Linked DNA regions of Homo sapiens: regions 2, 3, 4, 5, 6 and 7 are each linked to region 1. Evidence: promoter capture Hi-C in 16 types of primary human blood cells and fetal thymus (Javierre and others, 2016). All regions are on one chromosome and are shown on one strand. Each heading gives the region's core, a stretch centred on a gene start or on the middle of the fragment in contact. The rest is flanking DNA. Distances are from core to core; before and after follow the strand shown.

Evidence for each region. Contacts are between HindIII fragments. The CHiCAGO score rates a contact against its expected background, and 5 or more counts as called.
Region 2: a contact is called between a fragment that was not itself captured here and the fragment with the promoter of PLXDC2 in region 1, in 1 of 17 cell types (monocytes). The highest score is 5.1, in monocytes.
Region 3: a contact is called between a fragment that was not itself captured here and the fragment with the promoter of PLXDC2 in region 1, in 3 of 17 cell types (neutrophils, M2 macrophages and monocytes). The highest score is 6.8, in neutrophils.
Region 4: a contact is called between a fragment that was not itself captured here and the fragment with the promoter of PLXDC2 in region 1, in 3 of 17 cell types (M2 macrophages, neutrophils and monocytes). The highest score is 6.5, in M2 macrophages.
Region 5: a contact is called between a fragment that was not itself captured here and the fragment with the promoter of PLXDC2 in region 1, in 1 of 17 cell types (megakaryocytes). The highest score is 10.1, in megakaryocytes.
Region 6: a contact is called between a fragment that was not itself captured here and the fragment with the promoter of PLXDC2 in region 1, in 2 of 17 cell types (neutrophils and M2 macrophages). The highest score is 6.0, in neutrophils.
Region 7: a fragment that was not itself captured here is called in contact with the fragment with the promoter of PLXDC2 in region 1 in 1 of 17 cell types (megakaryocytes); the score reaches 7.6 in megakaryocytes.

Annotation. Positions count from the first base shown.
Region 1 is chr10:19,813,839-19,818,251 of GRCh38, reverse strand. PLXDC2 (plexin domain containing 2) reads right to left here and starts at 1,820. Exons shown (of 14, transcript NM_032812.9): 1 at 1,061-1,820. The coding sequence starts at 1,172. It overlaps LOC124902388 (a long non-coding RNA gene), which reads left to right and starts at 2,024. Exons shown (of 2, transcript XR_007062078.1): 1 at 2,024-3,850. RefSeq lists an enhancer at 2,131-2,896. The HindIII fragment of the contact is 8,470 bases long and covers 771-4,413 here.
Region 2 is chr10:20,285,034-20,289,446 of GRCh38, reverse strand. PLXDC2 (plexin domain containing 2) reads right to left here. Exons shown (of 14, transcript NM_032812.9): 14 at 1-4,413. Among named protein-coding and RNA genes, the nearest start is that of MIR4675, 260 kb to the left of the region's middle. The HindIII fragment of the contact is 2,202 bases long and covers 871-3,072 here.
Region 3 is chr10:20,267,923-20,272,335 of GRCh38, reverse strand. The region is part of intron 13 of PLXDC2 (plexin domain containing 2); the gene reads right to left. Among named protein-coding and RNA genes, the nearest start is that of MIR4675, 280 kb to the left of the region's middle. The HindIII fragment of the contact is 4,857 bases long and covers 1-4,365 here.
Region 4 is chr10:20,247,866-20,252,278 of GRCh38, reverse strand. The region is part of intron 13 of PLXDC2 (plexin domain containing 2); the gene reads right to left. Among named protein-coding and RNA genes, the nearest start is that of MIR4675, 300 kb to the left of the region's middle. The HindIII fragment of the contact is 4,441 bases long and covers 281-4,413 here.
Region 5 is chr10:19,401,567-19,405,979 of GRCh38, reverse strand. The region is part of intron 28 of MALRD1 (MAM and LDL receptor class A domain containing 1); the gene reads right to left. Among named protein-coding and RNA genes, the nearest start is that of MALRD1-AS1, 320 kb to the left of the region's middle. The HindIII fragment of the contact is 964 bases long and covers 1,980-2,943 here.
Region 6 is chr10:20,227,056-20,231,468 of GRCh38, reverse strand. All of the region lies in intron 12 of PLXDC2 (plexin domain containing 2), which reads right to left. Among named protein-coding and RNA genes, the nearest start is that of MIR4675, 320 kb to the left of the region's middle. The HindIII fragment of the contact is 5,349 bases long and covers 1-4,413 here.
Region 7 is chr10:19,418,119-19,422,531 of GRCh38, reverse strand. All of the region lies in intron 28 of MALRD1 (MAM and LDL receptor class A domain containing 1), which reads right to left. Among named protein-coding and RNA genes, the nearest start is that of MALRD1-AS1, 310 kb to the left of the region's middle. The HindIII fragment of the contact is 1,732 bases long and covers 975-2,706 here.

The DNA.
Region 1 (4,413 bases), core at 571-3,070:
ACACACACACACACACACACACACCAGAAAAGAACAAATTGACAAATTGATTATCCTAGGGAGAAAGTTTTCGTTTTCTTTTCTTTTCCCTCCAAGTTTTTTCTTTTTTCTTTTTCTCTCGTTTCACCTCCTCTCGAAGTCCACCCTAGTTCACCAATTTCTGCCAAGATCTCTTTCTGCCTGTGTCTTCACTTTCTTCACTGAAAGGCAGAAATGGGGAGTAGGCACCCAGTTCGCGGTGGGCAGGGTTCCAGGAGGCAGCTCCCGCTCGGCGATAGCCCCCGGGGCGCAACTCCCCGCAGGACGCGCACCTGCCAGGACAGCCACTAAGAGGATGCGGAGGTTGGGGGCCCTCTCGGGGACAAAATCAGGGCACTCCAAGGAACTCTCTGCGCGTTCAGGCCTGTCTGTGAAGCTGGCAGGCGGAGGACAATGGGAGCAGGGGTAGGTCTCCAGAGGCGAGCCCGCCTCCACCTTTCCCACCTGCTCCCCACCTCTGCGCCGGCCGCATTTACCCCGCCCCCCTTCCAGCGCCCGCTTGGCCCAGGTCACTAGACGGAGCTAGTGGGGATCGCCAGGGGAAGGAAGGTGCTGCCACAGGGAATTTTCTCGTGCAGAGGGGAGACCTGCAATCCCTGGCTTTCACAACGTCCCCCACCCACCCCATACCACACACGCTTAGTTTAACCAGCAGCGAGGAAGGAGGAGGAGCCGGAGAGCACACAGCCTGGAGATGCCAGGTCCTAGGAGATGTATCCACGGAAGAAGCTTTGCTCTCACACTGAAGCCCTCCCTGGGCTACTTTGGGGAGACAGTACCACCCCCTGCCGCCCAGGTGAAGTAAGCCCGAAAGCCTCAAGAAAACCCCTAGTCCCCGGCGTCCTTCTCTTGATAACCCTCTTTCCCCATTTGGGAAGCCTAAGTTTAGCCGAAAAGCAACTGCAATAAGTTTCCCAAGGGCAGATAGGTGATGTTGGGGGGAGAGGGTAGGGAGCACGAGAGTGCCAGAGAGGTCTTCAGCTGCGCACAAAATCAGCAAGCTAAAGTGCATCTTACTTACCAAGGATTTGGTCTCCGGGTTTCCCATCGGCGAACTGAAACTGGTCCGTGAAGAAGTGGCAAAGTAACATAACTCCTGCAGCGGCCAGGTCGGCCTTCGGGAACCTCGCCATGCCGCCGCCGCCACCTCCCTACCCCACCCGCCAGTCCTTCGCCGGTGCTCGGGGGCTCCCGATGCAATAGGCACGACCGGGCCAAACGCTGCGGATCGGTCTCGGTAGGACCCGGAGGCCTTTGTAAATGTCGCTGCGATTTCACAGTAGGGAACCGAGAAGAGGAAGAAGCGAACGCGAGTAGGAGCGCAGCGCTCTTCGGACCTCTGAGGCTCTCTTTGCAACTTGCCACACTCGCAGCCCTCACCCGACACTGAACAACAACCGCGGGGAGGAGAGGCCACTTGCAGCCGAGGCTCGCAAACTGTCGGTTCCACTCGGGCAGCGCCAACCCGGTGCCCGCGGACGGTGACTTCCGAGCCCCAGCGATGCGCTCCACTGGGTTCAAAACAGATCTAATTCCACAGCCAGCGCCGCTGCCTGCCCCAGATCCACTAGGGCTGGTCGGCTCTGCAGGAACTTTCCTCTGTCTAGGGATGGCCCCGGCAGGAGGTTTAGGTTTGCGGGAAGGAGGTTGATGACGAAACCCTCCCGACAAGTTTTGCTTCTTTTCTTCGCCCGACGCAGGGCGCGCGTCCTTTCTCGCAGCCGGAGGAATGGGCAGCTCCAAAGAGCTGAGCCCTGGGAAGGTTAGGGCTGCAGCAGTCTGAGGTCCGAAGCCAGGAAAAAAATGTGTTTAAAAAAAAAAAAAAAAAAGAGGAAGAAGAAAGGAAAAGGGTGGAGTGGGAGGGAGTCACGCTGGAACCTATCGGGAGAGGGTTCCTCCGGGCTCAGGAGGAGGTGGCCCCAAGCCCCCGCGGAGCCCCAGGAGTTTGGTGGCGGAGGAGGCGCTGCCGTCGCCACGCTCCCCCGCGCTCCTTCTCCACACTTTGAGGAGGGAAGGCAGCTCGCAATTTGCCAGATCTGCCGCCGCACCCTCCTCCCTCCTCCCTCCGCCCTCCCCTTCGCTCCTCCAGGCTTCTCCCACCTTCCTCCCTGAAACCGGCAGCCCGCACAGACCTGTCCAATGGCTGCACTTTCCTCGGGGCTGGCTGAGGAGTCGCGGCCAACAGATTAAGCCGGGGGAGCCTAGCGAAGGGGAGGGAGAGGGCCACTCCAGCCCCGTGCGCCCCAGGCAGCCGGCTGCCCCAGAGCGCGGGGAGAGGGGACAGGCCGGGGAGCTATCGGGGGAGCGCGGGGCGGTACCTCCGCGCCGCCGGGGCGCCATCCTCGCAGCCTGCTCGCACGCCCTGGGCAGCTCCGCCAACTGCGCCCCACACCCACCTGGCTCCCGGGCCGCCTTCGCGCCCGACTGCGGGGGGCGATCGCGCCCCGCCCCGACCCTGGCGGGGTCTCCCTGGGCACGAAAGGGTTAACCACAGCTCGCCCCTTCGCGGAGGCTGGTTCTGGTAGTGGCTAGGGAGTGGAGAAAGCAAACCAGAGCCGGTTCGGTTACCGACTCTGCGAAGCCCCCTCGACCCCAGCCCAGCGCGGGAGGGTGGCGGAAGGTGGTGCACCGCAGCGTGGTCCCCGCCGCTGCCGCCGCGGCTTTGCAAAGTGTCAGCGGGGGCGAAAGCGAGAGTTTAAAGGAACAGGAGGCCCATTGAATTTCCTACCGGAGCTTTCAGGGGCTCTGGCTCCCCAGTTTGTTTTTGTTTTTTCAGCTCGGGGATCTGTTTCCGCGTTAACCCTTGCCGGCCCTCTCGTTAGTTGATATCTTATTTTGCATACAGTTAATCATTTTTGAAAGGGATAAATACAAGGAAAAGAAGCAAAGCGCTATTGGTTAAAAGTACAGGATCTAGAGCCCGGACAGCCTGGGCTGGAATTTCACCTCCCCCGCAATGAGCAGTTTATCTCCTAGCCTCAGTTATCCATCCATCAAATGGAGAGAATTAGAGTAACGCCCTTATAAGGTGGTTGCAATGGATTGGATGAGTTAACTGTATATTTAATAAATATAGAACATTGCCTACCGCAAAGTACATGGCTTTGTTTAAGTGTTTACTGAAGCAAAAGTGAGAGAAGACGACTTCAATCACATAATAAATGTGCATGTGTTCTAAGTTCAAGGTCCTTTCCACTCCAAGCTCTGAAGAGTCTATGGATGCTGTCAATAGATGTCTCGGCTTGCCACAAAACCCACTGGAAGTGGATCCGGATAATCAATCTACCTTTGCAAATGTGATGCTCAAAGGACGGCTCTCTCATGGGAAACAAGAAAGGTTTCCCTTAATCCAATACTCAATTTGCTCTTTATTTCCAAACAACAGATATACACGTATAAACACAAACATATATCATGCCTATACTCTTTATTATGCCAGGACCCTGGCTCTTTCCTGAGCTTTCCTCCCATAGGTTGATTTCTACTTAGGTAACTGGGTTTTTCTATTTCTGCTTAACTAGGAGTGTTTAAGTTCTATGTAATATTACATCCGAATTTGAGTACCCGGATATATACCTGCTTAAAATCAAGTTTGAAAACTGAGTCTTCTCATCAAAACCTGATTGTGCGGTTGACCCTTGAACAACAGGGGTTTGAACTGCGAGGATCCGCTTTTGCATGGATTTTCTTCCTCCTCTGCCACCCCTAACAGAGCAAGACTAACCCCTCCTCTTCCTCCGCTTCAGCCCACTCAATGTGAAGACGATGAGGATGAAAGCCTTTCTGATGATCCACTTCCACTTAATAAACAGTAAGTATATTTATCTTCCTTATGATTTTCTTAACATTTTCTTTTCTCTAGCTTACTTTATTTTAAGAATACAGTATGTAATATGTAGAACATACCAAATATGTGTTAATCAACTGTTTTTATATTATCAGTAATGCTTCTAATCAACAGTAGGGTATTAGCAGTTAAGTTTATGAGGAGTCGAAATTATACATTAATTTTCTACTGTGTGGGGGTCCGTCCCCCTGACCCCCATACTGTTCAAGGGTCAACTATAGTTTAATTGATGCCGATTCTTTTTGAGGATCATAAATCCATGCGGAAAGCGTCCCAAAATATTCTGCACAACTCCAGCTCCCATCATATCTAAAATAATGGGGAATCCAGCGGAAACCATTTCAAGAAAGCACCTCTTTTTTCAGACCGAGTTATTTCTCCTTCTTTCACAGTAGAAAAATAGGTGTTTCCTCCTCTGAGAACAAGCAAATCTCCACCTCTCCTTGCTATCATTTTCTTTCTTTTTTCCTTTATTATTTTATGTGCGTATTCGCAGGGTTCATTTTTCTTGTTACTTGCGGTCATCA
Region 2 (4,413 bases), core at 722-3,221, 470 kb before region 1:
GGAGTTCATAAAGCAAGATTAGTGACAGAGGCAAGAGCTGAACTGAAGTACCTTGACTTATTCCAGCACTAGGATTTAAAGCAGCAGCTAAAATCCCATCTGTCTGATCCAGGAGACTTGAACGCTTGGGCACTGTGGCTGGGAATAGGGGAAAAAGTCTCCATCCCATTGCCCACACACTGTGCAATCCTGAAATCTTTGTTTTCTACAGCTCCCTCTAGCTAGTATCAGTTTCCACATCGGGGTGGGTTTAGAAGCAAAATAACTTTCTATCTTGCCATCAGCCTTGTGCCTCTGAATTCTGCACACAGAATTTCTTCCACAATGGGTAGAACCTTTTGAACACTAATGGAAGAAAGGAAACAAAACGTATGTTGAAAGACAAGGTATTTAAGAAATTAAAACAAAATGCTCATTTACTGTTTTTAATATGTAGTCAAATATGACAGCAGTCTTACACAAATAGCTCCCTCCTCCCCCTTCTAAAATCCCAAATTTGTTGACTCCTACTGTAAGTGAAAAACATGGTTTGCTTCTGAAAATAGCAATCAACAGCAAAAACACAGGTAACATTTGGTCCCCACCAGCTTCCACACCTTTAAAGATAAATTGTGTCACTGAGGCAGTCAATACACTAAATTTCTTATCAAACTATTACTAGGGGAAAAAAATCAGATTTCCCACACACTGTAAGCAGAACCGAAAGAGCTGCAGAGAAACTTGGTTTAAGAAGCTGTGTGAAGAAAACATTAATGACTTATTGCAATTGTAATAATCCCCAGGTAAAAGATGGATGTCAAATTAATGGACTGTAAGGAAATACATTCAAACTTAGGTCATTAATATTACAGTGAACATAATCAGGAAGCTTGCAGAAGTATGTAGCATCTCTGAATTATTGAATTTGAACAAAGGTTTCCAATAGAGGTCACACTCTTTTTGCTCTCAGACACCATTAGTGCAGATTCAGATACAATCATTTTTACATTTGCAGGCTCAGGTACGTTCAACAGAAGGTCACCGAGAAGTATGGGCTGGTTATTTTAGCATGACAGAATGCAGGCTTGGAATTTCTCCTTGACATGGCAGAAGAAATAGGAATGATGCCCAGAGGACTGGAATAAATTCAAAATGCTTGGTTTTCCAAGTTCTATTTTAATAAACTTCGGAAAATTAACCTTTCCCTGAAAGACACGTCCTTGGTTTGGCACACAGGGCTTTCCAAAACAGTGAGAAACGAACTGGCCATGTGCTGCACTCACACACATAGTCATTCTTTTTGCTTGGGGTTGACTAGGTTCATAGGGCCAGATTTTCCTCAGTGTCCTCTTGTAGCAGTGCCGCAGTGAGCTTTGTGATTCTGACAAAGGGTGCCATTATATCCACTTTGAAATGCATTACAAATATTCTGCATGCTGGTGCAACTGGCATAAAATCTGGAAAGCCACCGCCCCCCCCCCCTCCCCCGCCGCAAGAAGTGCCCAATTTCTTCTCTTTTCACACTTCAACATTTCAAATGACTACACACAGAATTACCAGAAACAGTAGTAAATTCCTGGCATTCGAAGTTCCCATGATCCCAGCTGGCATATAAAAAAGACTCTCTCCTTTTTTTCCCCTGAAAATAATGTACTCTCCAGGCACTGTTGAAATGCTTCAAATCAGGCAAATGAGAGATTTGTTTTGACCAATCAATGAAAAGACTTCCCCCTCTTCTCCGTGAGGGCCCCAAGACTGGGTTACGCCATACACAAGATGTCTGTTTCTAAAGAGACTTCACTGATTTCCCTAAAATGATTTTAACATTTCTTTGCAAGTGAAGCTCTGATGTTGCCTAATGTTATTTTCAGAGTAGCCTGCTGCAGGATGCCTAATTTGAGTTTTTATTTCCCTGCTATAAATGTGACAATCTGAGTATGTTTTCATTCAAACCACCTTGAACATGGTGGCTGAGGCTTCACCACAAATGTCCAGAAAATAGCACTGGAGTCTGTCTGAGTCCTGAGATGGTCAAATCTCAGAGAAATCCAGCTCTGGGCCCGGAAAGGAAAGTGCCATCTCTTAACCTTTCCTCAGGAAAATTATTTTATTGATTTTTTTGCCTTATTTTCATGCCTTTTAAGTCAAAGGAAGATAAATGGAAAGTCTCTTTTTGGTCATTCACTAATTCTCTAGGGCAAGTCACATAATTCTCTAGGACAAAGGCCTCCATGATGTTAGGATGAATGCCATAGAAGAGGTATGGGGGGTGATGGCTGCATTTTAGACTAATCATAGGCATATCCTTTGCTTTCTCTATGTCAGGGGTCTCAGCATTGCTTGCAGAATATGTGCCCCAGTGTCTGGATGTCTGAATGACCTAAATTTGAGCTGGTCATCAATGAGTATTTATTAGCACATTGCTCTTAAGAAGTTAATAACTCGGCCAGGCACGGTGGCTCAGGCCTGTAATTCCAGCACTTTGGGAGGCGGAGGTGGGCGGATCACCTGAGGTCGGGAGCTGGGGACCAGCCTGACCAGCATGGAGAAACCCCGTCTCTACTAAAAATACAAAATTAGCCGGCTGTAGTGGCATATGCCTGTAATCCCAGCTACTTGGGCGGCTGAGGCAGGAGAATCGCTTGAACCTGGGAGGCGGAGGTTGCAGTGAGACGAGATCACGCCATTGCACTCCAGCCTGGGTAACAAGAGCAAAACCCCATCTCAAACAACAACTAAAAGAAGTTAATAACTCTGCCTAATAGCACATTTAGATTTTTATTTTTTTTTCCATGAATCATCTCCATTCACTCACTCTTAGGTTTATACTTTCCCCTAAAATTCCCCCATGAAACTTCTAAAATTAGTTTCATGCTATGTATTTGTTTGATAGGCACAGAAGGTTTACAGCTGCATGGTCAGTAAGCGATACTTTGGTCATGAATGTATATATACATATATATTTGCAATGCTGAGAAAAAGAGAGACTGCTGTTAAAAATCAAAATTCTCGTGGAATGAAGAGAAGCCACTGAGATTTTTTTCAACCAGAATGAAAATAAATAAAATATCACTATCTGCCAAATCAAAAGCTTTTATGTTATTCCATTATGAAAGACATTTATTGAGTAATTTGCAAATGTTAATAAGCCTTAGAAACTAGGAAAAGCTGAGTACTAGTTTATGACTTACATTTAATTTTTTTTCCAGCCTTTTATCCTGGGTTTAAAGTAACACAGAATCTTTCAGTGTCAACAGTGAGCTGGAAATTAACCTATAATAACAAGTTTTGAGCATTTTGCTCCTCCAGGCAAAATTTGGTCACTCATAATAAATATATTATGAAGAAGCCAATGATGATGTATTCCATAAACTTGTTATGAAAAACTGACTCCAGAAATTATGTGACTTTACTTGAATAATTACCATTTTACTTCTCTACAATAATCATTGTGAGAGCAGTGGGCATTGGATGGTTGAAAAGTTATTCCAGACAATAATTAGGCAGATGTATTACAATTTAAGTTGAGGCTAGATCAACTTAATCAAAACCTTAAGAAGTAATACCATGTTATGATATGACAATGGTAGAACAGGAAATTATAGACACATTTGAGGCTGGAGTTTTCTGATTTCCCTGATTGTCTTATGTCTGGGATGGTCTAATAAATGACATAACCACCACACACACCTAAAGTGCAAATGCTTTTTTGATACACTGGTGTTTCTGAATACCTCAAAACAGTGATATTAATAATTCAAAACCCAATAGAAATATTGGGTCGAGAAATCAAACTTCAACTGTTGCATCTGGTCAGTAAGACTGCAGTGAACTAGAAAGTATTCTTAGGTCAGGGAGAATTTTGAGTAACTTTTTTTCTCACAGATAAAATTAACAGGTCTACAGCACAGACATGCAGTGATATATTATGTTTCAGACACATTCTTCAGGCAAACAGTTTCTAGTTCCCATTTTAAGTAGAATAGAAAATTGGAGTTGAAAATTGATAGAGTATTGTTGATCCTATCTACTTGTAAAGTCTGGTTTAGGGATGTTATTGTATTATAATGATCGGTTACATGCCTGGACTCTCACTACTGTATATCACAAGTTACTAGCACAGTCACTTGGTTCCAGTAGGTGTTCAATAAATATTTCAGTGAACTGAACAGTTAAATAAATGAACAAATAGGGAGATGAATCAAAGTGCTCTGTAAAATGTAAAATGCTTCACAAACATAAGGTAATAGGAGTATATAAAAGGTAACACCACAGACCTCGCATTATCTGCCCAAAAAACCTTATAAGGACAAAAATGTTGTAATAGTTTGAAGAGCAAATAAAAATTGCAATTATATATGTGGTCAGAAAATCAGCTATATAGATCATTCATTTTCAAATATATTTGGGAAGAAATAAAACAAAGGCAGAAAA
Region 3 (4,413 bases), core at 688-3,187, 450 kb before region 1:
CACATTCAGAATATGTTCATTTAAAAAGGAAATATTTGTTGATTATCAAACAAATCTAGGTACTTCAATACACATTGTTTCTTTGAAAAATAAAGACTGAAAGGAATAATTCATTTCAAAAAGCCACAGGTTAGAAAACCAATTTTCCTTCTGAGGCTCATTTTAGCAAATCCTCCAAGTGTTCCCAAATCTTTTTAAAAAGCTACATCCCCTGAAAAAGGGCCCTTCCCCTGTAGCCCTCTTGCTCTGACACCAGCAGCCCTGCACCCTTCCCACTATTGGCCACTTTGTTGTTCAAACCGAGCATGACTGTGTGATAATGCATTCAGTCATCCGATAAAATTAGTATTTGCACAACTTTATGTAAAACAGTACTAAAGATAAGGCATTTATCTTATTTATAGGGAAAATAATATATTTGTACATAAAAACTTGAACGGGAGCTAACCAATGAGATTTGAGAGTCAGCGTAATATCCACTTCCATCCCTTCTACATTTCTCCTACCTCACCTCGAAGCTGCTACCTCCAGAGCCTGGCTATTACATGGCACTGCACTATGGTGGAAGATCACATCTAATTAGCCTCTGTAGTTCACCCAGGCTTCACTTAACTTCCTGCCAGCCTGCATTCCATAGAGGGCCTCTTCAGTCAGCTTACTGTCTGTTCTCTCCTTTATCTGACCATCAATTCTGGGTAAGTTTCCCCAGTCCTCAGCACAGATCCTTATCTTCTATATTTTTCTATTCCAGATCCTAAACAGAACCAACTAGTGGAGAAAAAAGTCACATGTTCAGGTTCACCCAGTGTCAAAGAATCACACTCTAATTTCCATTGGAAAGTCAGTGATTCATTTACTCTTCTCTTGTTGAATTCTTTTCACCAAACATCAGGAAAAAGCGTTTACTTGATGTTTCTTTGAACTCTCAATACTATATCTCTCTGAAATGTCTGGCCCCATCAATTGCCTTCATGGTACAAAACCATTTTTCACCCTCAGTGCCTGCTCCCCGCTTTAAAACTGCATTCTCTAAGGTTATCAATGACTTAGCTGTCAACATCTTCTGTGACTCCTCTAGAGCACTTTACACTGCTGCCTGTCTCTTCAATCTTGACGCTTTCCGTTTTGTGGCTTTCTAGGATGGTATATTTTCTTGCATCTTGCTCTGTTTGTGTGTGTGTGTGTGTGTGTGTGTGTGTGTGTCTGTTTTTTGTCTTAAACGGTCCCCTTTTCTGATTCATCAACATTAACTGTCAACACGTCCTAAGGTTTCGTGTTGACAAGACCCAACTCTTTATTCTCTTGGGTTTCAACTTCTACTACTAGTTCCATATTTTCTCACCTGATTGTTTACCCATATCCATTCCTTTTTTTTTTCCAGTTTTTTTTTTTTAAGATACCCAATTTCTTGACCATCAGCTCAAACCAAACCTGCCTAAAATCCATCCTGTCACTTTCCTTCCTAAACTAAGCCTTCTGATGTTTTTAATTCTGTCATTAGAAAATTCAATTTCGGCAGGGCACGATGGCTCACACCTGTAATTCCAGCACTTTGGGAGGCTGAGGCAGGCAGATTACCTGAGGCCAACATGGTGAAACCCCGTCTCTACTAAAAATACAAAAATTAGCAGGGTGTGGTGGCAGGTGCCTGTAATCCCAGCTAATTGGGAGTTTGAGGCAGGAGAATCACCTGAACCTGGCAGGCGGAGATTGCAGTGAGCCAAGACCATGCCATTGCACTCCAGCCTGAGCAACAAGAGCAAAACTCTGTCTCAAAAAAAAAAGAAAAGAAAATTCAATTTCTCAGTTGCTCAGATTCTGGACTTTGAAGTTATCTTTGATCCTTCTTCATCCTACATATTCAATGTAATGAATCAGGGCATCCTCCTCACCTTTACCACTAATTTGATATAGGAAACGTTCAGAAATTGCTTACTTTCTTGGAATCTCAGTCATCCTAACCGTAAAACAGGGATCTAACAATTCTATATTTACTGAGCTCACTGGGGAGTACTGGGAATCGAATATAACTGATTGAAAACCCTTTCACATATAAACCTTTACGCAAACAAAGATTGCTAAATTCTACCCTCTTCCTTCACATGGCTCCTGTATTAGCCTCATTCTTGTCCCTCTATAAATACCCCAATTCAGCTCTCAGCAACCACTTCACGTATAGACTACCAATAGTCTTCTAACTCCCTTGGGACCATCATTTCACTCTTCTTCTGGCTCACTCTCTACTCCTTCCCCACAACCATTTTAAACTCCCACTTCTTTTTTATTTTATTTTATTTTATTTTATTTTATTTTATTTTTTGATGGAGCCTGTCTCTGTTGCCTAGGATGTAGTGCAGTGGTGTGATCTCAGCTCACTGCAACCTCCACCTCCTGGGTTCAAGAGATTCTCCTGCCTCAGCCTCCCAAGAAGCTGGGACTACAAGCACGCACAACCATGCCTGGCTAATTATTGTATTTTTAATAGAAACGGGATTTCACCATGTTGGCCAGGCTGGTCTCGAACTCCTGACCTCAAGTGATCCACCTGCCTCTGCCTCCCAAAGTGTTGGGATCACAGGTGTGAGCCATCATGCCAGGCCCAAACACCTACTTCTTTATTACATCACTGATTCTCGCTGCTTGTAGAATGATAGTTAGCTTCTGTGGTTTGTCCTTCAAAGCCTACCATATCTTCCATCTATAGTAAAGCCATTTTCAATATTTGCCCATAGATATTAACACATAGTTAAATAAGTTGATTCATCTTGACCTTTCTTGATATGTTTTTAAAATCATAATATATCCCCATTCCATCTGAAAAGGTATCTCCCCTTCCTCTCTGCTTAGCCAGAACATAGCACCCTTTCAAAACCCTGCACAAATACCATGTCTTTAATGAGATTCCTCCTGATTCTCTCTCTCTAAGTATTTTATAGCATTTGACGGAATCCTTTATTCAATATTGATCATATCTTTGATGTTCCTTTCATTATTACTGAATTCTTATGTGGCTGTTTGGCCTTAAAATTTTTGTGTCCTCTGTCTTTAGATGCATACTAAGCTGGAAAATATAATTACACATAGGATGAGCATATGATTTATTGTCCAAATCAGGACACTTTTGAGAATAAATGGAGAAACTATTAATAATTATATCAGACAACAGACATATACAGAATAGTTCTTGGCAAAGTGGAATGTATGTTTACCTTAGTTATACCCCCCTGTAAATGTAAGAGACTCTAGCAGAGTATACTGCACAGATTCTTTGGTTTTGACTAATTTTCTGTGATACCAGCTAAGAATATTCTAATCTTCTTCAGCATTAGCCTTAGTTCATAATATGTTAATAATGCTTTAAGCAGCATATCTTTATTTTTTGAGCCACATTGCCACAAGTGGTTATTTTCTACCCAAATCATGTAATAATTTGCTATTAGGCAATCTACTCTAAAGAAAAGTACTTTGCAGAAGGTGTGAAAACAAGCCAGTTCACCGCTGCCTGGTGACTGAGTTAAAAGACAAGATAGTGCTGCACTGGTCATAAATATTCTAATGAAAGTTGAATGTGAGTTAGTGCTGCCTCCCTACAACAGACTGGCTGTGTTCCTTAAGAAATTGTTCTTGTCAAGTTACTTGTGTCTGGAGTGCCAGTGTATTTCTAAGTGAAGCTCAAGAAATCTGGCAAGTTAAGGTCTAATCAGCAGTGACCCTAGGAATGGTTAATGGTGAGTTATTTTCTATCCTAAAGTAATTGTGTGCTTTACTCCATATTTAATCACATGATTAAGAAACAACACAAGAGAATGATTTATGTCATCAAATCCAAGAGTGGACACTATTCATTTGAAGCTACAGAGTGATCTTATCAGTCAAACTAGGGCAAAACCACACTTACATATATGACCAGTTTCATCATATGTTTTTAATCTGTATATGTTGAAATAAAATTAAAAGTTTTAAAGAAACTTTAAAAGGCAGATAACAAACTTTTTACCTATTTAAGGTCCTACATTGAAAAATGAGTATCCAAAATGGTGTATGTTTTTAAATCTGAGGAACTTGATTTACTTATTTTGCAATTTTGGGCACATACTGTCACGTGTCAAATCAATTCAGAGGTTGAAATAAAAATATAATTATGACCCTGAAAAAAGGAACAATAAAGTATTAGTGTAGCAGGAAAATAAAAGTTAATATGTAATTTAGAGGATCAATTGTAGAGGCTTTACAGATACATTTGTAATTATATTGTCATACAATGTTATAACTGACTAATAACAGTGTTTAATCATTCCTTACTTAGGGCTCCAGTGATATTCATTACTGTCCTTTACACAGATTCATGTAACCTCCACAGAAGCTTTCCTGAGAGTGGACTGCATTCATCCTGTGATAAGGAAGTGCTGATAA
Region 4 (4,413 bases), core at 1,252-3,751, 430 kb before region 1:
TTACATATAACTTGTTCTAGACTAGTCAGATTTTAAGAGCTCAGAAGTCCATATAGGCAGCAGCCACATATTGACAGCACAGGTCTATACTCTGTATTTCTCCAATCCTTAAGGTAGGAATTATAACCACTATTTACAGGCAAACTCCATTGCCCTTGCACGATATCAGTCCCCTCCTGAAATACAAGGGCCATTGTTCCTATAATTTTTGCTTCTTCTGATTTCATTTTAAATTAATCATTTGAACTGACTCCTTTCTCTCTGAGGACATTTCAAAGCTTTGCAGCATAAATGGCAGGATTAGGTACTCTTAGTTTTTACTTTTTTTTTTTTAACCCTCCAATATTTTACTCATAGAATCTATTTTCCAAGGCTATAATCATTTTTATCATGAGGTTCTTATCAATTTCTCTTCATTTTTATGTGAACAGAGCAATCAAAACTGTACATGAGTGTCCAAATACTAGCAATTATTTATGTATACTAAGAAAAATTAAGGACAATGTTCAACATTAATACTTTCAGCAAGATGGCTAGTCTAAACTATTTCGTTATAGTCCAAATAGAATCCTTTCATAGGAATGTTGATTTTGTATGATTATCACTTTGTAATATTATTTTCTTGACCTTCAGTTAGATTACATTTTATGTATTTTATTTAAAAATCTTGAATAGTGATATGTGTAGAATACCACTCAAGAGTGTAAACATTTATCTCCGTGACCTATGTTCATGAAACAATAAAATATATTACAAGTCACAAAATTTATGCCTAGCAATGTTGAACAATCATTAAATTTAATGTAGAACCTAGATATATTGACCCTTCCAAAAAGATACTAGTTTCATCAAGATCTTTTAAAAATTAAGGAATTCATGCTTACTTAAATATGTATTCTCTGCTATTTTGTTTCAAGATAATAAATTTCATTTTTTTAAAAAAACTTAAAGCATATGTAGACATTCTTGTACATAATGTGATAGATTTTCACCAAAATCAGACAACCTTTAGAAAATTACTGTGAAAAGCTAGACACATAACTTGAAATGCAAGCCAGTCAGTTGAAGAAACTGCCCAGTCTAAGATCTGAGAATGATGGAGCAATATAGAAGATAAGTTAATAAAAAAAATAGGCTATTCTGCTTGACTGAATAGAAATGGAATGTTTTAGGAGAATGGAACTCTTGTACCTAATCTTGTATAAGAAGACATGGGATGTATACAGTTAATTCACTTGTTTATGGAGTGATGATTTGCTTAATTATCTCATTTCCTTTTTACAGTAAGAAATCTAAAAGCTAAAGCCCATGTAAGTATTTTATATAAGGAAGAGTGTTGGTGTCCACAAAATGTATAATAACTGGTGTATATTTTCTGCAAGAAAAAAATACACAGATAACAGCCACTGACATTATCATCACTAAAAATAGACAACAATAGCAACAGCTACATGAATTGGTGTCATGCTTTTGGCAATATTTACTAAGTTCTTTTATACCATTCATTTCTTTCCTTTGATTCTACTTCTGGAAATCTGTTCCAAGGACATAATGTATGTCCTTGCATGTATATCAGCCTGCATTTCTACATACAGCATATGAAGAAAAACTCTTTATACATACAGAGGCAGCACAGCCTGGTGGTTATGGGCATAGTCTCTGGAGTTGGAGAGCCTGGGCTTAAATCCTGACTCCACTACTGACCAAATGCGTGATGTTGAGAACTTACTTAAGGCCCGTGCTTCAGCCTCCTCGTCTATGAGATGAAGATAATCTTTGTAACACACACAGTCTTCATGAGGATTAAATGAGGTAATAAGTGTCAATCACTTTATTAGTGAATTTGATAAATGTTGGCTGTTACTATTAATATGTTTATAATGGGGAAGATTAAAAATAAGAAAAAGTAGGAAGAGCACCATTGCTCTGCAATAGGAGACTGGGTGCATGAGCTCTGATATATACACTCAAGGATAGAGTCATGAATTTTTTTTTTTTTTTTTTTTTGAAACAGGATCTCACTCGATTGCCCAGGCTGCGACCAGTGCAGTGGTGTGATCTTGGCTCACTACAACCTCCACCTCCCAGGTTCAAATGATTTTCCTGCCTCAGCCTCCCGAGTACCTGGGATTACAGGCACGTACCACCATGCCTGGCTAATTTTTGTATTTTTAGTAGAGATGGGGTTTCACCATGTTGGTCAAACTGGTCTCGAACTCCGGACCTCAAGTGATCTGCCCGCCTTGGCCTCCCAAAGTGCTGGGATTAGAGGCGTGAGCCACCGCTCCCGGCCTAGCATCATTCAATTTCACCATATTATATACGCTGTTTAGCACAGGAACTAACTCATACAAGTGTTTAGTGAAGCCTGGATTTCACTGTGAAATACTCAAGATATCCATTGGGTTACATTTTAATATAATTGAAACTGGGACATATCTTGCAGTCAAGGGTGTGTTAGAGTTTAATTGGAAGCGTGTGATGCATCTCACATTTGATGCACTCTGTGCTCAACAGAATAATGGCCTCCCAAAGATGTCCATGTCCTAATCTCCAAAAGGTGTCAATGTTACCTTACACGGTAAAAAGGAACTTTGCAGATGTGGTTCAGTTAAGGACCTTGAGATGCAGAGAGTATCCTAGATTACCCAGGTGAGCCCAATGTAGTCACAAGGGGGCCTTACAAAAAGGAGGCTGGAGGGTCAACGTTAGTGGTAGGAGATGTGACGGTGGGAACAGAAGTTGGAATGATATGAGAAGAAACCATGAGCCAAGGAACACATGCGGCATGTGGAAGCTGAAAATGGCAAGGAAACGATTATCCCCTGAAGCCTCCCGAAGGAACCAGCCCTGTCCATATCCTGATTTTAGCACTTCTGACTTCCAGAGCTGTAAGACAAGTGTGTGTTATTTTAAGTAACTAGGTTTGTGGCAATTTGTTACAACAGCAGTAGAAAACTAACACACAGTCTTCATCTGAATGAAAAGAGGTCCTTTTTGACTTCTAGGCACATGTTAGGCTCTCAGTGCATTCCGAGTTACCACTTGACTGCATAAGAGGCAGTCAATATAAAGCTATTGAATGAATGTTGAATAGAATAGAATACAAACATTAAAATGATGTTTACAAAGCCATCATAATAAAACAGAAAAATGTTCTTTAAAAAAGAATACCTATTTGTATTACAGTGAAATCACCACTGTGTTAAATGGGCAAACATCAAATTATGTACATAAAAATTCCAGAAGAAAATAAATTAAACTATTAATAGTCATCATTTCTGCATGCTGGAACTATAAATGGCGTTTCTTCTTCCTTTTACATTTCTGCATTGTCTCAATTTCCTACAAAGAATGGTATCACTTTCATAAAAGAAGAAAGCACATCAATTTCACTTCAAAAGTAGATAGGAATATAATATGGAACATAAAAGGCAAGAAAAGAATGTTGTTATATTCAGTTCCCTCATTTATGCAACAACAATTCTAATGTAGCTAATAATTCAAAAATCTTAAATCCACGCGTCTGCATATCACAAACCATGGTCATTGTGGATCTGTTTTGATTTTGTAAACAGTGGTCAGTTTTAATAATAGTAAATTTATGATTATCACCTCCAAAAATCAGCTGCTTACCAGCCACTGTGAGCCGCATGACCCCAGCAGCATGTCAGATAGGTAGTGATTTAAGCAGACTCTGGCAACTGACTCCACAGGAAGGAAAAAAAGCCAAGCGGAGAAAAGCTGGGAGACCTGCTGAATGAATCTGCTTCACTTACATGTGAAAAGAAGAAAGAGTTATTCTTAGAACTATGACTCTTTGACCTTGGATAAGTCATTCCACTCTTCTGAGCCTCACTCAGTCTCTCCTTTTGTGTTAGGAGAGTATAGAACTAAATTATCTCTAAGATTCCATCTAGCTCTAATATTCTATAAATACATGTGTACGTATACACATGTAAACACTCCACACCTATGGACATACAGGCTCTGAGACATAAGACAATGAGACTAATACTCAAAACAATATTCCACTATTTTGCAGTCATACAGGGGTTCCTTTGAACCAGCTTTAACTAGATCTTTCATACTATGCAATTTGCTGCTAATACCATCACCATCAGATATTTCAGTGTCTTCTTTTTCACCATGTCAGAAAATAAACTGCACAGTTTGAAAAGGCTTAAACGTGTGAGGGGTTACGGCAGTAGCAGCAGCCTGAGGTCTGGCTAGTCCCTGAGGCTTTCTAGCTTGTCACTCAGCAGCTCTTTGAAGAATGCATTTGTAACTTTGAGAAGGTTGTCTACTTTCTTCCAAGAAAACGAAGCACATTAACAGAACTTAATAACAGATTTCCAATTCAAGGCAATGCGTGATAATATCTCAATTACTGATATCAAATGAAGATGCCAT
Region 5 (4,413 bases), core at 1,212-3,711, 410 kb after region 1:
TGATCTTTTGTCACATCTAGGAGCCCACTGTGACATTCTGTGGCTAAACACCTCATACTTCAGGAAATAAACTCTATAGGTCAAACGGTCTTCATCGCTCCAGCAAAAAGGAAAAAAAAAAATGCATCCTAACGCAAAAGTAATCCCTATGTTTAGTGAGTGGTGTTATCTGAAAATGGAGTCTATGTATGCATTGGAAGAATAGAACATGTGGCTCCTTTAAAAGATTCAAAGGAATGAGTCTAGGAACTAGGATATGTGTATGGAGAGAATCTATGTGTGAAAGTTTGATATCTGATTTTCCTTTTGTACTCTGAGTACAGCCATATTCTGGGTTCTAAGATTCTAATTAGGATCAACACTTCTGTGAAATCTATAACATGTAAATAAGCCTTGTGTTGGTGTTTTTGTTTTGAACTGATGGATGGGACCAAAGAGAGATGTGGTTTTCCTCCCATTGAATCTTTGTTGAAAACAGTATGTTGATTATAGCAGATGATCAAGTCAGGGGTCTCAGACTCTCAGGCAGCAACTAGAACAGAATAATCGATGGCCAAAACTATTGTTGGAAGTTGCAGGGAAAAGTACACAATGCTGAGAAGCAGTGCACAGTAAACAACTCTGTGGTAGATATAAAAATAATCTCAAAAATACAAGAGAATGGTGGGACTTCAAAGAGGGAGAGGAGGTGACCCTTCTTGTTGAACATAAATTTCCAGAAAAGGTAATAATTTTGTTCATATTTCTCCTTCTACATTCTACCAGTAGTTCTAACTTCCTTCATGCAAAATAACAAATAAGATGTTGACGCATTCTTACCAAATTAAGAAATATTTAGAAAGTTGAGGTAACGTGTATATATGCAAAACACCACTTCATTTCAATGCCTCATTTCTAAGTTTGATTATTTTCACAAATTCTGCCTTTCACAGGTTTTTTTGTTGTCATGAAAAACCTACTAAATAAAGTGCTACTTCTCTTCATGAATATACAAAGGACATGCATTTTCATGGATGCATTTATAAGAAGTTACAAGGAAAAGCAACTAGTACATTTGCTTTCTCTTCTCTGTGCATAGAATTTCGTATATTTTCAGAGCTCACCATATATGAGAAGATGCAAATGGATATATCCAGTACTCTGTTATGTATAATGATTCTGATCCAGGTGTTCACATTGAAGTTATTAAATTTAACAGAAATTTTCTGGAGTGCTATTTTTTAAACAAATTATTTCAGAAACAGAATTTTAAGTAATGTGCAGTATGTGTGTGCAAAATGAGTGAAGTGATATAAAACAATCACTTCCCCAGAGGTCTAGGAAAACAAAGTGACTCTATTATGGATATGTCACTTATTTGCCACCATTGATTGTTTTCCTACTCAATGATCTGGCTATATTTACATTAATAAAATTTTCTAAAATATTTAACAGTGCTGAAGCTACTTAGAAAAAAACACATATATTTGTGGCTTGGAAGTTTACAGGAAAATAAGTGGAAGATTTTCAAGGGAGCAACATACATCAGAAACTTCTAATATGAAATAGAATATACTACATCTTAGTCAAAGATAAATTATCTGTAGTTCCAGGTCAACACTCTGCCCTTAATCATTCTACAAGGCATAAAAAAATTTTAAGTACGGAGATATCTGCTTAAAATTATTGTACGAGATTTTTTCCTAATGATGTTTATTACTACATGGATAAAGTAATAATAAAAAAAGCATAAGTGCATTCTGAAATCACTGCAAACCATCTATCTATAAAAATAAAACTGTTCACAATCTCCCTACATCTAAGGAAACATAGTAAATTGTAAAAGTTTTACTTATATGCTCCCATTGTATTTTGTGTTCAAATGGAAAAACAAAATAAAAAGTATTTTTTTCTCTAAGCTTTACTATATTTTTAGTTTATCTTCTGCTTAGACATTTTTTAAAAACCTCACAAGAAACAAAATTGCTTAGTAAAAAGCTTAACGTGTTTAATGCCATTTGAAGTATTATTTTCTGCTTTTCACAATACATGTTTTCTTATGTTTTATATTCTTTTGACTACCAAGAAAATTCAGCTCCGATTCTAATGAAGCCACCAAAGTAATTAATTTCAATGTTCTGCCTTATAATTTGGGGATTTTCTGAAAAATAACTTAGAAACAAACGCTAAAAAGACTAAAGAATATTCTCACCATTCTTTCATCATTCAGGAGCCATATGCAGCTCTAACTTTGGTACGATTTTATTTGCTGAATGACCCCCAGTGAAGTCAAAAAGAGTCAAGATAACTCATTAAAAATATGACCTGTAAAATCCTTAGGGCTCATGAATGCTGATGAAAAGAAAGCCATGAATTCACATAAAAATATTATTTTACCCTTCTTTTTAACCTTAAGTCTCTAAGTCACTTCAATTGCTAGCACTCAGAATAATGATCCCTCAGCTCATAAGTCTGAAAAACTAAGTCTGCTTTCTTGTCACCAACACGTTAGCATAAAAGAGGGCAAAGCAATGCTCAATGATTATATGTGGATATATTAAATGCCACATTGTGAATGGAAAATAAAATGTATCAGCATTTGTAACCTATAACAAAGTCCTCAATGAGTCATTCATGGAATTTTTAATGGCAAAACCCTAATACATATGGTCTAATTCATAAAGTAAATTCATAACCAGATGGTCTAATTTATAAAAATAATAGTAATTCATCCAAGTCCACTTTTATGGCTTCTATTTTTTATTCATGGAGGCATAATATTCACAATATGATGTAAGGGTTTTAAATCAGGACTACAAAACTAGACTTTTTTTTTGGAAAACATAAATTCTTTTTAGACTGCATAGATAATTCCATCATCAGCTTCCAATTTCCCCTAAATCTTCCACTTTGTAAATTATTATTATAGGTTCACATATTTTTCTCCTTGTTTATAGTTAAGCTTCTTTAAGCACTATAAATGTCTTATTTTTTTCTAACATTATATGAGTCTACAATGAGCCATTTATTACGGAGGACACAAAACTAAATTGTGCCTACATCTGACTTTCAAGGTAGTGGTAGTAAGTGACAAGACGCAGAAGGGAAAATATTCAATCTGGATCTAGGAAGATGTTCAGGATTTGGTTATGTCAAAATCTACATGTGTGTGTTTGGTGGGGGAAGGATGGAGGGAGACAAGCATTCCAAATGTAGAAAAAGATATGGATTTAACAAAGGCATGGATAAGAAAAAGGCACAAATAAGAGCATGGAAGACACATGTGTATTAATAATATGTGGTTACCCTGGCTTATTAAGAAAGATTTTAAGGGAATAACTATTTTATTTTATTCATTTTTTTGGAGATAGGGTATATTAGTCTGTTCTCATGCTGCTAATAAAGACATACCCAAGAGTGGGTAATTTATAAAGGAAAGAAGTTTAATTGACTCACAGTTCCACATGGCTGGGGAGGCCTCACAGTCATGGCTGAAGGTAAGTGAGGAGCAAAGTCATGTTTTACATGGTGGCAGGCAGGAGAGCTTGTGCTCCGATTTATAAAACCACTGGATCTCCTGAGAGTTACTCACTACCAAGAGAACAGTACAGGGGAAATCACCCCCGTGATTCAATGATCTCCACCTGGCCCCGTTATTGACACATGGGGATTATTACAATTCAAGGTGAGATTTGGGTGGGGAAACAGCCAAACCATATCATGGGGTCTTGCTACGTTGCCCATGATGGTCTCAATCTCTGGGACTCAAGTTTGGTGATTGTGTTAAGTTTGACAACTTGCTCTCTCAAAAGATAAAGAACGATGGCCTTCCCAGAAGAAAGAGCATTCTCAGAGACTGACAGGTGGGACTTGGAGAAAAAGTAGAGGGTATAACATGCATTGTTAAGAGGGGCCAATATTGCCCCCAAGGGGACAAAAATTGGTTTTGAGGGAGCAGAATTTTAGATATCACGTAGTTTTTGGCTTTCCAAAGCTCAGTGTTACATGTAAGTCTCATTCTTCAATATTTAATTATTCTTGTTGGGTTTATGTAAGTATCATGTTTTCTTAAGTATCAACATGAGTGGTATTAGAGTTCTTCAAAATTACATAAAAAGTACACAAGACAAATGCTACAAAATGTTGGCAAATAGATTGTTTTGATTAAATAACTCTCTTTTGATTGTTTGATCAATCTTAAAGTCGTATCACTAGAGGTGGCCAGTGTGTGCCTGTTGGCTGCCACTGACTGTTGTGTTAATGCTTTTTATGCTTTATTCTCTGTGATCTTGTGTGAACTTGAGCCACGAGAATTAAATTAAAAATTTATATTTTGTTAATTCTACAAAAGTTATTTTACCTATCCTTATGTCCATTGCTGCAAAGAAAATAATGTCAATGTCTGAATGAATATCTAGCAACTAAGTTGAAATT
Region 6 (4,413 bases), core at 1,250-3,749, 410 kb before region 1:
ACCTTTTTTCCTTTCTAATCCTTTCTAGTATAAACATTTAAAACTATAAATTTCCTTCTAAATACTTTTTAGCAGCATTCTACAAATTTTGGTATTTTGTATCAGTTATCATTCCATCAAAATATTTTGTAATTTTTCTTATAGTACTTTTCTTCAATACATATTTTATATATATCAAACATTTATATATATTTGTATATATTTGTCAATATTCATATATATTTATATATATATTAGAAGTTTGATTTGCATTTCACATATTTGAGGATTTTGTAGATATATTGTTCTCCCAACTTCATTAAGCATAATTGACAAATAAAAATTGTATATATTTACAGCACACAATATACTTTTTTGTTATATATATACATTGTGGAATGATTAAACCAAGGTAATTAACATATCTATTCACCTCATATACTTATCATTTTTGTGTGTGGTGAGAACATTTAAGATCTACTTTCTTATCAATAGACATTATATTGTTACTGCTTCTCGTTTGATTCTTTTGCAGTCAAAGAGTGTAGTCTATAAGACCACAATCTAGAAATTTAATATTTTTTATGACTCAACATATGGTCTACTTTGGTGACCGTTTCATGTGAACTTGAAAAAAAAAACCCTCCAGGGACACTGCTGGATTATGACAAAGTGGTTGTCAGTATTGTTCAAATATATATCCTTCTTAATTTTTTTTTTTTGTCTAACTTAAAAAAATTATAATGGTTCCTAATGAAATGACACTGTTTTCCTGTTTTTTTTTTTTTTTTTTTTTGAGACAAGGTCTCACTCTGTAGCCCAGGCTGGTGTGACCATGCGCTCACCATGGTGTGAACTGGTGTGACCATGACTCACTGCAGCCTGGACCTCCTGGGCTCAGGAGATCCTCCCACCTCAGCCTCCCATGTAGCTGGGACTACAAGTGCACGCCACCATGCTCGGCTAATTTTTTTGTATTTTTAGTAGAGATGGGGTTTCACCATGGTGCCCAGGCTGGTCTCAAACTCCTGGGACCAAACAATCTGCCCTCCTCGGCCCCGCAGATTGCTGGGATTACAAGCATGAGACACTATGCCTGGCACCTTTTTTTCCTTTTCATATTTTCCTCTGTTAATTCTCCTTGTCTTTAAATCTAATTTAAGCCTACTTAATTTGATATTTATATAGGCATTCCAGCTTTTCTGTGGTTATATTTGCAGTGTACATATTTTTCTATAATTTTACCTTGAAGTATTTTATATCTTTGTCTTTATTTTTCACATACATTTCTTATACACAGCATAGAGTTGGATCTGGCTTTCTTAAAAGTCAGTGTGATAGCCTATGCTTTTAATGAAAGTGTTTATTTTATTTACATTTGAAATAGTTACTAGTATGTTTGTATTTGGTCTGCCATTTAGCTATTCATTTTCTTTGTGTTCATCTGTTATATGGTCCTTTGTTCCTTCTTTCTTGTCTTTTTCAGGTTAAACAAATATTTCTTAGAATTCCATTTAAATTCCTCCAATGAATTTTGAGCTGTATGTTTTTGCATTTTTTTTCTTTAGTGGCTGGTGAGTATGTTAACTGTGTTAAAAATCACTTATGGCTGACACTTTATCCAACAAGTTGTTAATTTATTACTGTAACTGAAATAACATTCGGTCACAGTAGCTTACAAAACTGTTACAAATTAGTTTCAGATAATTAACTGCTGTCCTTAGTACTCAAGTTACATTAAAAATCTTGCACAAATAATAATTCGAGCTCTGAAGAATAAAACTAAAGCAAAAATTAGTCTTAACGGGAGGAGCAAACCATTGAAAACCTAGCTGTTTCGAAGAAGATTAACTAAATTTACCATCTAATGGATTAAACTACTCTCTTTAAAGCATTATGCCATTTTGAGACTAGCATATCTTTTCTCTCCATCAACCATCAACATCAATTCCTTTTTTTTTTTTTTTTTTTTGCTTAAAGTGGATCAGCATATTACGTGAGTAATACGCATGGCTAATTCAAGCACACGTGAACAAAATTCAGTGTTGAAATCATACAACCTCAAGGAATGCTACCAAGTTTAGGAGGCTGCAAACACAACCTGATGGGCCTTTTACACATCAGCAGTTGGCTTCCTTCCCATTCCTGTTTCATGTTTTATGGGTCTTTCAACTCCTAAACACCATGACCTCTGCCCTCTTCCCACTCACTCTCACCATATTACTTGTGTCTTACTATATGGAGAAAAGAGCAATCTTAGATGAAACCCCCTCAATTTCTCCCTCCTGTCTCCCTTCCCTCATTCATGCTGATTGGCTCCACCCATGCTTGTGGATATATCACTTCACTCCCAGTCATCTTTTGACTCTTTTTCTTCTTATGGGGTCTTTCTCCTCAGCACCTGTGACAGGTAAACAACAGCATTAAGAATCTCTACTTCCCTTCTTCCATTTTTCTTGAAAAAGCAGTCTGTCCTTGTGGACTCCAATTTCCTCACTGTCCACAGAATCCTCAAATTCTGCCTGGAGATTGTACAATGGTGGACTGTTATGCAATCCAGTCAAGATCAACAAATGTCTTTATGCCACCAACTCTCATGGTCACTTTTCTGTGTGTGTTTTTTTTAACTTGACTTGTCTGCAGCATTGACACTGTTCACTACTTCCTCCTTGAAATTTTATTCTCTTTTGGTTTCTGTGATACCAAACTTTTCTGTTTTCTTGCTGTCTCTATGACACTCTTGATTTTATTCACAGGACTTTAAATCCTGTATTCCCTCTCTAGTCTTTGGCCCTCCCTCCCTTCCTTCCTTCCTTCCTGCTTCCTTCTTTCCTTCCTTGTTTCCTCCCTCCCTTCCGCCCTTCCTTCCTTCTTTCCTCCTTCCTTCCTTCCTTCCTGCCTTCCTGCCTTTTTTCTTATTTTTTAATTTTTTTTTGAAGACTCACTGTCACCTAGGCTGGAGTGCAGTGGTGCAATCATGGCTCACTGCAGCCTTGACCTCCCAGTCTCAAGCAATCCTCCCACCTCAGCCTCCCCAGTAGTTAGGACTACAGGTGTGTGCCACCATGTCTTGCTAATTTATGTATTTTTTTGTAGAGACAGGGTTTCCCTGTGTTGCCCAGGCTAGTCTCAAGCTCCTGGGCTCAGGTGATCCACCCAGCTCAGCCTCCCAAAGTGCTGGGATTACAGGCGTGAGCCACCGTGCCTAGTCACTCTTTTCATCTTTATACTATCTTCCCATACCTAATTCATCTCCTTAACTTCAACTGTCATTTATACGCTGCTGATGCCTAAATTTGTATCTTATGGTTATATTTCTCAAGTTAATTTCAGGCTTATATAGAAAAATGCCTACTGACATTTTCATTTAGATATCAACATCAACATGCTCAAATTAAATTCACTGCTTACCCCCTTTCTCTTCCTGTATTTCCTATTCAATGGCACCACTGTCCACCCAGATAACTTACGCCCATGTCCTGGGAACCACCTTCGTCACTTTCCTATGACGTAAATCACACATCCAATCAAATATTAGCTCATGTAGCTTCTACTTCATTAGTAAATACTTCTCTTGTGCATTCTCTTTTTTTATTCCCATGGTCAACTACTACTTTTTTTTAGCCTCTGACCATTGCTTCTATGGATTACTAGTATAACCTCCTAACTAGATTTTCTGGCCTCTCAGTCTTACTCCTGTCCCTCCTGTTCCCTGCAATACTTCAAGGGTCAACTACTAAACATGTAAAATGTGTCCTGACACTCCCTTGTCAAAATGACACAAACGGTTCCCAAGATCTCTAGGTTAAAGTTCAAACCCCATTGCCTGGCGTAAAAGACTATGAATGCTGACACTCCACTTATTCTGATACTTTATGGCTGGTGAGGTTGAGAAACAAGCCCACCTTCTCAGCCTCACCAGCCTTAAAGCACTATGTATATAACTTTACCCCAGGAAAATCAAATCTGGCAGCTCTTTAGAGTTATCCAACCAGATCTTGATGTTTCATGCTTCTGAACCTCTTTCTATGTCAATCCCCTTCCTGAAATTCTTTTCTTCTCTCCCTTTCCTCAGAAATCCTGCCCATACTTCAAAACTTGGATCAAGTATCACCTATTCTTGTAATTTCATTTTTGTTTAGATACCCCTTCTCTGTTCTTATATAGTTTTTCTTGACTCTATCTTTGCACTCTTCACACTATACGTAAATATCAATTTACTTCTCTATGTCATCCCCTTAGGCCACTTGCTTCTTTAGGACAGGCATCAGACCATGTAGATCTTTGCATCTGCATCACCTAACAATGGGCCTGGTACACAATAGTTGAAGAAATGTTTCCCGAGCAAATCAAACCAAGTCAAATCAATTCAGCATCAAAGTTAATTGATGTTTTAGTGACATACATATTTTAGTGGTATAGGGCCATCTACTA
Region 7 (4,413 bases), core at 591-3,090, 400 kb after region 1:
ATGCACAAACAATACAGAGTAATAATTATCTTTACTATCCTTATATCCTCTCTTACATTTTGTCTAACTAGCCTTCAGGTTTTATACCATGACTGATGCAAATGTTGTAAGTCTTCTGGTTACTCTATGTTTTTCTGTGTTTACTCTCTATATGTGACATTTTTAACATCTAAAAGATATTTTCTCACCAATAGCTTTGTTATTGTTTTGTTTGAAATGTATTTCTCATACATTGATTACTGTGTTCTGACACAAAGGTATTTTATTGATCATAAAATTGCAAAGGTACTGCAAAGTGGCATTCCATCTCAGGGCTTCACAGAAAATTTTACTAACTACTAGTAATGCCAACATGAGGTTAGAAAAGAGCATGATTTAAATGGAAACTAATAAAAGCAGTAAGACTTTCTAAAGGTTAAATCAATGTGGTTTCCTTTTGAAAATGTCTTCCTGGAAAAAATGCTGTTTTTCTGCACTAGCATCTTTATCAGTCTTCCAGAGGATTCTGCTCATTACTGGGATCATTCATTATTCTTTGTTGTGTTTTAATTATTTTTTGTTGCATCATCAAAGGCAATTTGCTACAGATGGGTCCAGTCATATGCTCCTTCCATCCTTCTTGGCACAAACACACTCACTTTGGCTCTGATCTTCAAAATCTCTGCATCTAAGCCAAACTCTCAACATGTCTTTCAAGTAGAGGGTTTAACCCTTTACTGGCCAGGGGAAAAAAGGCAATAGCAATCTGCCTCTGAAAAGTGGAGAGAAAGACGATTAATTGTAAAAATCACCTTTATGAGCTGCTGACAATCCAATACTATGATAGTGGGAAAAACACAAATGATGTTTTTAACCTTATTAACATGACTAGAAGATATGGGATACGTTGACTAGTGCAGCCATTAATTATTGATGCATTTAGCAAAATTTGCAATAATGAAATGTGTTTCTCATACTCTTTAGTGTGTAAAGCTTTTAAACATTCTCTAACTGGGGCATAATTATCTAGGGGCACAGTAATTACAGGACTTGGTATCTGTAATGCCTCATACTTACTTCACTGCAGCCTCTAACCAGAAATTATAAATAATCCCTTTTAAGATTGCCCATCTTTTCCCACAGTTACTTGTTATTCCCTACTTAAGTTAGTGACTTTCTCCATTCATCTCCAAAGCTAGCATTGGAATGTCAGTGCTTAGAATCAGAGCGCATTGGAAAGCCAGGGTTCAAATCCTGGTGTCACTGGCAGAGTTTCTAAAACATAGCATTTAACAAATTCTAGGATGAAAGTGTGCACAAACATGCACACATACACATACACACACAAACAGATGCATCAAAAGCATCTTCAGAGACAGGAAAAGACATCAGGTATTGTTGTTTTGGCTGATTTGAAGGGGGCACTAACCCTTTAAGGTGGCTGATTACAGAGCAAGATCTCTCCCATTACCCCACACTCTGTGCCCCACATATCCTTGGGAATATTCATCTTTATCATTCAAATCCCATGATCAACCAAGGGTAGAGTCATTTTGCAAGTGTAAGAGAGGGTACTCAGGGAAGTCTATGTGAACAAAGTCAAAATGAATGGCAACTCAAAAGAGACAAGTAGCCCTGTTTCCATAAAAAATGAAATGCACCCTTCTGATTCCAGTGGTGAGGATGGTTTCACAGCCTTCCCCACTTTGGAGTTGCCCATTTGAGGGAGGCTGTGAGCCTCTGATGACGTTGCTACCCCTGTGCACTGCATTTATTGTGTATCTATCCCTGGAAGTTTCTGTAAGTCAAATGCATTTTTTAAATTTTACAATATTGCTTTGCAGCATGGGAGACAAAGCTCTGATCCAGGCAGAGGGTATGTGCACAAAAGACTCTAAAAGACACAATAATAAGGATTTAAAAATAACATGTTCCTTATCTAGTTGCAACTTGATTAAATGGCTTGTTACCCAGAGCATGAATCACTGATGAGCATTAGTTAAATATAGACATGACTTTAAGATAAAACTTATTCCTCTGTTTTTCATATTAGATGTAGGGAATAGTGATTCCATGGAAACAAATACATGATTGTTTTTCCTTATGAAGATAACTTTTGTTAGATATAAGTTCTAAATTTCTTTTCAAAGAATCAATATGTCAGTATGTTCAATTCTTTGCCTTCTACTTTTAAACTTAACTTCTTCATACAGCAACGTTTTTCGATTACCGGCTCCACCCTGACTCATTCCGATTACCTACTCCACCCTGACTCATTCCGATTACCTGCTCTGTCATAAACATTTTTCCTGCCAAACCACTCACCCCGTCATTCTCTTTAAATGAGCCAATCATAATTAGTTTAGCCTGCTCAGTCTAACCCTAGCCGACAGGGGAACGACAGAGCAGCAGGGGCCACGAGTGTCAGGCATAAGAACCCCTTCCCCTCCCTTGTCCAAGTGTGCGCTCCACTGCTCCCTCTGTAAGGGTGCAACCTTCTATAGAAGTATCTTGCCTTGCTGAGAATTAAAAAGAAAATTTTATATTCCAGTGCCATTTATTTTGCGGCACCAAAACTTTACATATAACACTTTGATCTTTCTATTTAATAGAGGACAGTGAGTGACACTTTATGTCTTCTTTTTATTTTTTTCCTTTCCTAATAGTAGGATAGTATTTAGTTTATTGATCCATTCAATAAACATTTATCATGCCTGGTTCTAAGCTTTACGAATAAGAAAAGTTGACGACTATTCAGGAGTTCAGAGTCTATTGGAAAAGATAGCTGTAAAATACAATACTACAACTACTACAATTAAAGTATGAATATATTGCAGTGATCACTGTTTTGGGCTGGAATGTTTCAGAGAAGCGGTAATACTGAATGGGATTTGACGAGTAAAAGGATTTTTCCATTTGAAAGAAGGAAAATCAGCCGGGCATGGTGGCTCACATCTGTAATCCCAGCACTTTGGGAGGCAGAGGCCAGCAGACTACCTGAGGCCAGGAGTTTGAGACCAGCCTGGCCAACTACTCTTTTTAGTAGAGACAGTGCAACCCCATCTCTAATAACAACAACAAAAAAATTAAATTTGCTGGGCATGGTGGCATGCACCTGTAGTCATGGCTACTCAGGGGGCTGATACAGGAGAATCACTTGAACCCGGGAGGTGGAGGTTACAGTGAGCTGAGATCGTGCCACTGCACTCCAGCCTGGGTGACAGAATGAGACTCAGTCTCAAACAAACAAACAAAACAAACAAAACAAAGAAAGAAAGAAAGAAGATGAAGAAGAAGGAGGAGAAGGAGAATGAGAATAAGGAAAATCATTTTAAGAGGACCATGTTTTAAACCAGGAAAGTGTAAAGGATCATGAGTTAAGGGAAATGAAGGTATTAAAAGACAAGGGTATATAGATCACGTGGGAGTCAGGTGGCAAAGGATGGAGATGTGGAAAGGAAGGCGGTTAGCTGGAGAAGGGTGTGCATACTGAAATGGTTGAGTTCATCCTCTGTGGTTATGGGAAACCACCAAATGATTTTGAATAGTGAAATGATCACGTATGTGCTCCACCATACTACTATTTTTGTGGCAGGATAGACAGAATAGCTTTCAAGGAGGCAATGTGGATAAAGGGCACTGTCCCAGGCACTAAGAGAGATGTGAAGTTAGAATGAAAGGAGGCCAATCCCAAAACTGCTATGTGATAACCTGAGCTAAGATGTTGGTTATAAGGATAGAAAAAATTATGAAAGGCTTAAGGGTTTAACTGAGAGACAATCACAATTTATTGACCTTAAGATTTGAAATATATATTTTTTCCATTGGCAGATAAAGAGATATCTCTTCTATGTGGCTTTGAAAATAAGCTTTCATATCACATTTCATGATTAAAATATGATGTCTTAATTTTGCAATTATTTTAGTAATCAGAAATGTATCTAAGGAAAATCATATGATCATAACAGTGTAGCATCCACCCTGAAATTATTCTCTGTTATTGTAAACAATTTAGACATCATGGAAGGCACTAAAAACAAACATTCCTTAAAATGTTACTACATGTCAGGCATAGCAGTGGCTGTTGGAGTTCATTTAAAGATGAATAAAACCTTAATCTCAATCTCCAAAAAACGTATGCTGAAATCCCAAGAAAAATATAAAACATACCTAAAAAGAGATTAGCTTGAAAAACATAATCTTTTTTTAAAATTATTTTTAGTTTAAAATCTTAATCATGGTGCTTATGTTTGAAAGCAATGTGTATTTGTTGGGGGCGTGGGGGGGAATGGTGCATATTTGATCTATTATCTAGCTAGTTTACTGAATATATCTCTTTCCTAGGCACAGATAATCTATAATGATAATTTATCAACATATCTATATCTATAGATAGATAGATAGAGACAGGTCAATTGATCTACATTCATCCTA